2 separate regions of the Homo sapiens genome follow, and region 2 is linked to region 1. Evidence: promoter capture Hi-C in 16 types of primary human blood cells and fetal thymus (Javierre and others, 2016). All regions are on one chromosome and are shown on one strand. The core of a region is centred on a gene start or on the middle of the fragment in contact, and the rest is flanking DNA. Distances in the headings are between cores, read along the strand shown.

Evidence for each region. The method cuts DNA at HindIII sites, captures the fragments that hold promoters and counts their contacts. A CHiCAGO score of 5 or more calls a contact.
Region 2: a fragment that was not itself captured here is called in contact with the fragment with the promoter of CARD11 in region 1 in 1 of 17 cell types (total CD8 T cells); the score reaches 5.4 in total CD8 T cells.

What each region holds. Positions count from the first base shown.
Region 1 is chr7:3,042,027-3,046,633 of GRCh38, reverse strand. CARD11 (caspase recruitment domain family member 11) reads left to right here and starts at 2,767. Exons shown (of 25, transcript NM_032415.7): 1 at 2,767-2,967. RefSeq lists an enhancer at 2,545-2,839 and a silencer at 2,705-3,054. The HindIII fragment of the contact is 15,618 bases long and covers 2,245-4,607 here.
Region 2 is chr7:3,091,888-3,096,494 of GRCh38, reverse strand. It overlaps LOC105375130 (a long non-coding RNA gene), which reads left to right. Exons shown (of 2, transcript XR_007060191.1): 2 at 910-2,369. Among named protein-coding and RNA genes, the nearest start is that of CARD11, 50 kb to the right of the region's middle. The HindIII fragment of the contact is 1,232 bases long and covers 1,806-3,037 here.

The DNA.
Region 1 (4,607 bases), core at 1,518-4,017:
CTCTACAGACATGTTTCATTGTTTTAAGGCACTGCCCTCATTTCGTATCTTGCAGGAGGGAAATCTGAGCTCTTCTTTAAAATGACAGGCCAGATGCCGTGGCTCATGTCTGTAATCCTGACACTTTGGGAGGCCTGAGCGAGAGGATCACTTGAGGTCAGGAGTTCAAGACCAGCCTGGGCAACATAGTGAGACTTCATCTCTACAGAAAATTAAAAAATTAGCCAGGCGTGGTGGCGTGCACTTGTAGTCCCAGCTTCTCGAGAGGCCAAGGCGGGAGGATGGCTTGAGCCAAGGAGGTCAAAGCCGCAGTGAGCCTTGATCAAGCCACTGTACTCCAACCTGGGCAGCAGAGCGAGACCCTGTTTCAAAAATAATAAAATGAAATAAAATAAAATGCTTGCCGGGCGCATGGGCTCACACTTGTAATCCCAGCACTTTGGGAGGCCGAGGTGGGCGGATCATGAGGTCAGGAGTTAGAGACCAGCCTGACCAACATGGTAAAACCCCATCTCTACTAAAAATACAAAAATTAACCAGGTGTGGTGGTGCGTGCCTGTAATCCCAGCTACTCAGGAGGCTGAGGCAGGACGATCACTTGAACCCGGGAGGTGGAGGTTGCAGTGAGCCGAGATCGTGCCACTGCACTCCAGCCTGGGCAACAGAGTGAGACTCCATCCCAAATAAATAAATAAATAAATAAAATGCCACTGCCTGATTTAGAGGTTTCATGGAGTACAAGCAGCTTCCCCAGTCCCAGGTAGGCAGTGAGATGTATCCTTAGGGACCAAGGCCTAGAAGGCTGTGGGTCTTGGTGTTAGAAGGCTGTGGGTCTTGGTGTTCATTTTAGAAACTTTCTTTACGGCCCTTGCTTGCATTTCTGAACACGCTTTACAGGAAGCAAACTCGTGTCTTCCTTCATCCCTAGCACATGTGCATCAGTGCAAACAGACTCCTCACTGGTATTTCAGATTCTTCCGTGCTTGGACCAATGTCCCATTTTTTATTTATTGTCTTGCTGAAAATTTAATTTATTGAAGGCCTTTCCTTCTAGCAGCTCGAGGAACTTTTCTCAGAACACTTAAAACATGAAACAGAAGCCTACATTCTCTAGCCATAATGAGGGGATCAAAAGAGAGGGAGATAGATGAGAGGAGAATGGTAAACTGAGGCAGAGTAGAATGAGAGGTGCAGAGGCTGGGGCAACGGGGGGGCGGGCGGTGCAGGAGGCAGTGCAATTGCAGCAAGAGAATAGAAACTAAGGTTTTCTGGGTAGGCATGGCTCATCCAGATTTTTATTTCAATAGCTTTAGGGGTACTTGCGGTTTTGGGTTACGTGGATGAAGCGTATAGTGGTGAAGTCTGGGCTTTTAGTGCATCAGTCACTGGAATAGTGCACATTGTACAGTATACATTGTACCCAATAGGTGATTTTTCATCCCCTACCCCCTCCCATTCTTCCCCCTTCTGAGTCTCCAACGTCCATGATCCCACTCTGCCTGCCTTTGCCTACCCATAGCTTAGCTCTCGCTTTTAAATAAGAACATGTAGTATTTGGTTTTCCACTCCTGAGTTACTTCACTTAGGATAATGGCCTCCAGTTCCATCCAAGTTGCTGCAAAATACTTTATTTCGTTCTTTTTTATGGCTGAGTAGTATTGCATGGCGTGTGTGTGTGTATCACATTTTCTTTCATCCAGATTTTTGAGTCTGCAATCCATGTAAACCCTTGGGACCATCCCACCCATGACGATGGCCATTTGGGGTAAATTATTAAAATGATGACATCCAGCTGGGCGCAGAGGCTCATGCCTGTAATCCCAGCACTTTGGGAGGCTGAGGTGGGCATATCACTTGAGGTCAGGAGTTCGAGGCCAGCCTGGCCATCATGTTGAAACCCCATTTCTACTAAAAATACAAAAATTAGCCAAGTTTGGTGGTGCACGCCTGTGGTCCCAGCTACTCGGGAGGCTGAGGTGGGAGAATCGCTTGAACCCAGGAGGTGGAGCTTGCAGTGAGCTGAGATTGTGCCACTGCACTCCAGCCTGGGTGACAGAGCGAGACTCCATCTCAAAAAATAAAAATAAAGTAAAATGATGACATCCAAATCACAGTTTCTCTTACAAGTATACTTCACCGGAACATCGAGGGCACAAGCTGATGGTGGGTGTCTTGGACCCCAAAGCTGTCGGGGTGAGGAAGGCCTTTGAAGGGGTGCTGACCACCCGGCATGCCCAGGAAGCTTCCAGAACAGGGGCTGAGGGAGGAAAGAGGCTTGGGGTGTAGGAGGCTGCAGGATTTGATGTGGGGCACCCCGTTCCCCTCCCATTGCAGTGACAGGCTCTGGAATTTCTTCAGAAATTCAGCTAGATCTCGGGAGCCAGTGCCCTGGAGAACCTAGAAGGGAGAGAGCCCCTCCCAAGGCCCCACCTGGACTCTGCCGGGGGTCACGGCTGGGTGGGGACTGATGCCCAGACTGGTCCAGCCTCACCCCGACTGATGCAGGTGGGCTGGGCCCTGAGACTCGCCTTGGTCTCCCCATCTCCGGCTCCCTGATCTGTCCCCAAGCACCCCCACCCCCGGCCCTGTCCCCACTCCCACCCCCACCTCCTTGCCGCCCTCCTCCCGAAGCACCGACTCCGCCCCCTCCCTCTCTTCCTTATCTTTTTCTAACCTTTCGCATTTTTTAGTCTCATTTCCTGTCGGGTTTTGCATTTCCCTCCCCCGCCCCTCCCAGCCTATGACATACTTTCTCTCCTTTTTTCTCTCCTGCCTCCTCTGGCCTTCGGACTCCTGCCCGCGCCGCCCGCAGCCCCCTCCCGGCCCTGCAGCCCCTGGGCGGGCGGCGCCCCTCGGAGGACGGCTCCGGGCCCGGGGGGACGGAGGGCCTGGTCGCCTGGAGGAAGCCGGAGGCCTGCGTGGAGGAGGCGCCCCGCGCAGCTGGCTGGCGGAGCATGAGCGCCCCAGGTAGGCGCAGCGGGGATGGGGGAGCTGGCGGAGGGGGAGCACGAGGCGGGGAGTTGGGGGAAGAGAAGAGGGCACGGGGAGGAGATGGGGGGCATCAGTGAGATGACACGGTGGCGGGGGGGGCGTCGGGGGATGGGAGTGGCTCCCGCTGGTCCCGCGATGCTGGGGGTATCCTTCCCTCTCCATCTCTGTCCCCCTGCCCCCCTTCTCTCTCTCACTCTCCTCTCCCCTTTTTCCCTTCCAACCCTTTTTCTCCCTCACTTTCCACCTCGTGTGCCTCTCCTCCGTGTCTCTTTGAGCGTCTCTGAGTATCACCGCCCAGCAAAGCCCCCACCTCCTCCTACTGGACAGGAAAAAATCGGGGGTCAGGAGGCTGCAGCCCCTTGGTGCACCTGCCCCAGAGGGAGGAAGAGAAACTTTTCTGACACCTGAAAGGCCCGGAAGTTTGCAGACCACAGCCCAGCCTGACTCAGAGGCTCCTGGGAAGGTGGGGCCTGGCTCAGGGAGGAAGGGCAGCCGCACCAAAAGTGGGTGTGGAGCTGGGAGATGGGAGAGGACAGCCCCCCGCGGGGACTGTACTAGAAAGGGGGTGGCGGGGGCACAGGAGAGGGCCCAGGTTCCCGACTGAAACCCGGAGCAGGTCCTAGCGGCCTCAGGCCTGAAAGCCACCTCCCCCAGGAGGCCCCTCCAGGCCCGATGGGGCCACCAGGCCTTCTGCTGAGCCCCCTCTGCAGATAGGGGCAGAGAGGGTGTTTCTGTCCCTCGGGGGCTCTGAGCACCGCTGGAGGCTGTCACGGGGACCCAGGTTCATGGACAGTGGTCTCAGCTGTGAGCTTCGGGGCTGCCCACACAAACTTGGTCTTGGACCAAACTGACCTCTCTCTGCCTGGCCTGCTCTCAAAGCCTTTGATTTGTAGTTCAAAACATTTTCTCCTAATATTTATGACTCGTCTTGAAGGTATAAGGTTACCAACCTACCAGAAAGGGGAGAAAAATAGTCGATCGTTCATTCCACATTTATTGAGCGCTCAGCCTGTGCATAATGCGTGCCGGAAATCCCGGGAGCCGGGAATTGATATGAGGACAGGAATTTCTCCGTAAGTGTCCACTTCTGCGCTTTCGCGGAAACTCCGGTTCTCTCCCCAGCAAGGCATCTGTAAAGAGATGACACCCCTGCCTCAGGCCAGGGCTGCCCTGAGGAGCGCAACAGTGACCAGGACTCAGCGTAATTCAAGGCCAGGGAATGCTTGGACCCGTGTGGATGTTACTTGCCTGGGTATCAGATAGGCAGGCCGTGGCTCCACTGGCCCCAGCAGTCTTCTGTTAATGCATGAATGGTCCTTGATGTGATTTTTTTAAAAATCGTGGTGAAATACATGTGACATAAAATGAGCTCGCTGAACCACTTTGAAGCGCAGAGTTGAGTGCTGTTAAGCCCGTCCATGTTATCTTGCGGCCATCACCACCATCCAGCTCTTCCCAAACTGAAACTGTGTCCCCCGTTAAACAGCAGCTTCCTGGCCCCCTCCGTAGCCCCTGGCAGCCACCCTTCCCCGTTCTGTCTCTAGGAATCTGATGACTTTCGGGACCCCATATAAGGGGGCTCATACAACCTATGTCCTTCCTGTGCCTGGCTTATT
Region 2 (4,607 bases), core at 1,172-3,671, 50 kb before region 1:
GCTACATCGCGAAAAGCATCTATACCAGGTAGACAGTAATTTACTTTCCCATAAAACTTTAACACTTTTGCTAGAAACACTATTTTTTTTTTCACAACACATTGAAAGACTATTATCCAGGCAGCCTCTCTTTCGCAGGGACGTAGGGAGGGAAAATCTTTTAAGGGACTGGCATTCCATATTGGTACTTGAGCGTCTTGGCAGTGGGACGCATCGCCCTCTCACAGGGGTGACTGCCTGACTAATGAGGTCGCCCCCAGCAACATCCACATTTTAGACTGTATTGTGTGAGCTGCCCCAAATTGAGGTGATCTCCTGTCCAGACCAGGCTGTACTTTGGTTATTTACTTGCAATGAGATATCAAGAGACTGAAAGTGGTTTAAAAAAAAAACAAAAATCTCTTCCCTAATATATGGTGTATTATTATTATTATTATTATTATTATTATTATTATTTTGAGATGGAGTCTCACTCTGTTGCCGAGGCTGGAGTGCAATGGCACTATCTCGGCTCACTGCAACCTCAGCCTCCTGGGTTCAAGCGATTCTCCTGCTTCAGCCTCCTGAGTACCTGGGATTACAGGCATGCATAGCCACCCCTGGCTAATTTTGTATTTTTAGTAGAGACGGGGTTTCTCCATGTTGGTCAGGCTGGTCTTGAACTCCTGACATCAGGTGATCCGCCTGCCTCAGCCTCCCAAAGTGCTGGGATTACAGGCGTGAGCCAACACGCCAGGCGTTTCTGTTTGTTTGTTTGTTTTATTTTTAGTAGAGATGGGATTTCACCATGTTGGCCAGGCTTGTCTCAATCCTCTGACCTCAAGTGATCCACCTGCCTTGGCCTCCCAAAGTGCTGGAATTACAGGTGTGAGCCACTGTGCCTGGCCTCACATCTCCTCCTTTTAACAGGATAAACTAAACAGGCCTCAAGAATGTGACCTCCCACGCTCCTCCATGAACAGCTCTCTCCCTGCGTCCCAGCAACCAAAGACACTTGTTGATTTGGGAAAAACCCAGAGGAAGGATTCTGTCTGGATTTTCTGGTACCACTGACGCATTTTCACCCAGGCACATTCATCTGGTTCAAGACTGAATCTTTCCCTTTTTCATGAAACAGATTCTCCCCCTCTTTTAAGCCTCTGTGGGCTCCAGAATGAGTTGAACCGCTGTATCTTCTCATCACAGCGTTTCCCTCTTTGGACATGGGCTGAGACACACAGATTTCACGACTTCCTCTTTGGAGAAGGCATGAAAGGACCTGCAGCCACGGCCCCATACGTTTCAAGAGAGGCAAGGCTTTCACCCTCCGTGTCTTTCACAGCCATCCGCCCACAGCCTCTTAACTTCCTGACATTAAACAAAAACGAAACCGAGGTTTCCCTAATTGGGGATCATCATCAAGAATCTGTCATGGGGTCTCTTAGAAATTAATTCAACTCGATTGTTCTTCAGACCTCCGCTAAGGAGCCGGCGTGTTACTCTCGACACCAACTTGTCCCATCTTCATCCTATATTAGCTCCCTAACAGGGTTGCACGATCAGCTCCTAGGCTGCAAATTAGAAAAATGGGCGATGATTCCAGCAGCTACGCCTCGGCACTCTCACGCCGGATTACTGTGATGGTCTCCTTGCAAGGCTTCCGGATCTTTCTATGTGGGTTGAAATTGGTTCCAACTGTAACTTCCTGTTGATCTCCCACCCTGAATTCCCTCATTGATGCAACATTTTGTTAAAAAAGAACTTCACCGAATTACCCATTTCATGGAAATTGCAATAGGGTATTGACTTGTATAGTTAATGAAGCTTTCAAAAAAGCACTCCTGTAGCCATCATCTAAATGCCCCTCTGGCCACCAAAACTGTGCATGTAATTCACTGTAGTGAGGATTCCTGAGTCTCCCTAAGGGAGATCCAGTAGGATCAGTTCTGGGTGGGATCCGTCAGCAAACACAACCTATTGCCCGCCTCCTTCTGGTTTCCAGTCCCGGGGGGTAATTGATGTCTTAGTGCACACAGAGCCGGACCATGGAGCTAAGTAGATATGGGTTTCCAACTCATCCCGGCCACTTCCCAGGGGCATGTCCAGGGGCAAGTTAGTAACTCTCTTGAACCTCAGTTTCCTCATCTGCAGAGTGTGGATCATCACAAACCTACCTTCTGGGGTTGCTAGGGGATTAAAGGAGATAAGGAGCATAGCAGGGCTGGCCCTGTGCCTGCCTGGAGTGGGCACCAAGCTGACTTCGCTGGGGCTCTCCCGGCCCCACATACCTGCAATGGTTTTGCCTTTGGCTCGATGTCTGAAGCCTTTGCATTTCTGAAGGGAGTGATGTAAATCAAGCCATGCTTATGATTAAAAACATCCAACGTTCAGCTCAGTTGTTTGTCCTATTTTGGCAACATCCTATTCTTTTGTTGTTGCTGTTTTTGAGATAGGATCTTGCTCTGGGGCCCAGACTGGAGTGCAGTGGTACAATCATGGCTCACTGCAGCCTCAACCTCCTGGGCTCAAGTGATCCTCCTGCCTCAGCCTCCCGAGTAGCTGGGACTATAGGTGTTCACCACCATGCCTGGCTAGTTTTTTAATTTTAATAGAGATGAGGTCTCATTATGTTACCCAGACTGATTTCAAACACCCAGGCTCAAGTGATCCTCCCACCTCAGCCTTCCAAAGTGCTGCCATTACAGGTATGAGCCACCACACCTGGCCAACCTTCTCCTCTTATCTGTGGGAAACCTTGGGGCATTACTGAAGAAAAAATTGTGATGTCCAAATCCTGCACTGTACCCCAGTGCAAGGTGGTAGGTGTTGAAGTAGAAAATGATAAGACGTAAATCGTCAGCAAAAGCCAAAGAGAGAGGTAAAAAATGTATGAGCACTAAATGAATTGATTTTCATAAAATTAGCGTTATACTGTATAATAATGTTTCCCAATATAAAGTCTTTTTCATATTAATATTTATAACATTGTAAAGATTAAATCATACCTTTGTGATTATTTTAATTTTTTTTAACCTTATTCTGTTCCAAAGATAAAGCTTGGTTGTGTTTTTTGTGTGTGTGGGGGGGGGGTTTGGGTTTTTTTTGGCCTTTATCTTTAGAATGTTCTAGTGACATTCTGAATTCTTCCAACAGGGCGATATTGTTATTTTAATAATGGTTATGCACAACACATATAGGAATCTGTCATGGAGTTGGTGGGAATGAAAAGGCTACTTAGATACCCAGCTTGAAAAGCTTTCATGTTTTTATGTTTAATTTGCAACAATCTTCCTTCTTTGCACAGGAGGTGATACATTACTGAAATAGGAGATCAGGCCAGGTGCGGTGCCTCACGCCTATAATCCCCACACTTTGGGCAGCCAACGTGGGAGGATCACTTGAGCTTCAGAGTTTGAGACCAGCCTGAGCCACATAGCAAGACCCCCCTTTTCTACAAAAAAAAAAAAAAAAATTAAAAATTAGCCGAGCATGGTGGCATGCATCTGTGGTCTCAGCTACTCAGGAGGCTAAGGCAGGAGGATTGCTTGAGCCCGGGAGGTAGAGGCTGCAGTGAGCTATGATTGAACCACTGCACTCCAGCGTGGGCAACAGAGCAAGACCTTGCTCTAAAAAATTAAAAAAAAAAAAATAGGAAGGAAGAAAATAGGAAATCAACCAATGCAGCTCTCACCACCTCCTACATCCGGTTCTGGGGTTCTGGGTGGTGGGGCGCCTGCGTCCTGCTGTAGGGTCAGGACAAACAGGCATGGCTGCACAGCTGTGCTCCCCCTGGCTGGCTCCCGCAGGCTCCCAATGCCTTTGGGAGGTCAGCCTCTCAAGCTGAGTGCCCAGAAACTACACAAACCCCAACAGGCCGTGCAGGAAATGAGACCCACAGCCACGTCACCAGCCTCATTTTTGCAAGCTGATGGAGGTGGGGAAACCCTACCCTTCTTCCTTTAGCAGCAATAGCTTTTCTTTTTTTTTTTTTTATCATGCTTTTTTTTTCATACTTACCAATATTTTTAAGTTTGAGCTTCATTTCAAATTTTTGACCTGAGTAATGATGCCATGCACACAGTTTGCCCAATCTTTCCCCAGCTACCTCTTGGGTCCTATATTAGTATGCTGGGCCTGCCACGACAAAGTACCACAAACAGGGCAACTTAAACAACAGAAATGTATGGCCTCATGGGGCTGGAGGCCAGAGGTCCAAGATCAAGGTGTTGGTAGGGTTGGTTCCTTCTGGGGGCAGAGAACCTGCCCCAGGCCTCTCCCCAGCTCCCGGTGGTTCTCCACAATCTGCAGTGATCCTCGACTTGTAGACGCATCCCTCTGATCTCCACCTTCATCCTCACGTGTGCTCTCCTGTGTGTCTGTGTCCAAATTTCCCTTTTCATGAAGACACTAGTCATCTTGGTTTAGGGCCCACCCTAAGAACCTCATCTTGACTTGATTATCTGCAAAGACCCTGTTTCCAAATAAGATGGCATTTGCAGGCATTGGGGGTTAGGACATGATCTTTTGGAGGTTTAACATCGTTTGTGGGGACATGATTTAGCCCTGACAGGCGCCCTCCTTGCCTGGGTCTCTTCCGTCACCACCCAGTGCAGGCCGTGAGCTCGCTC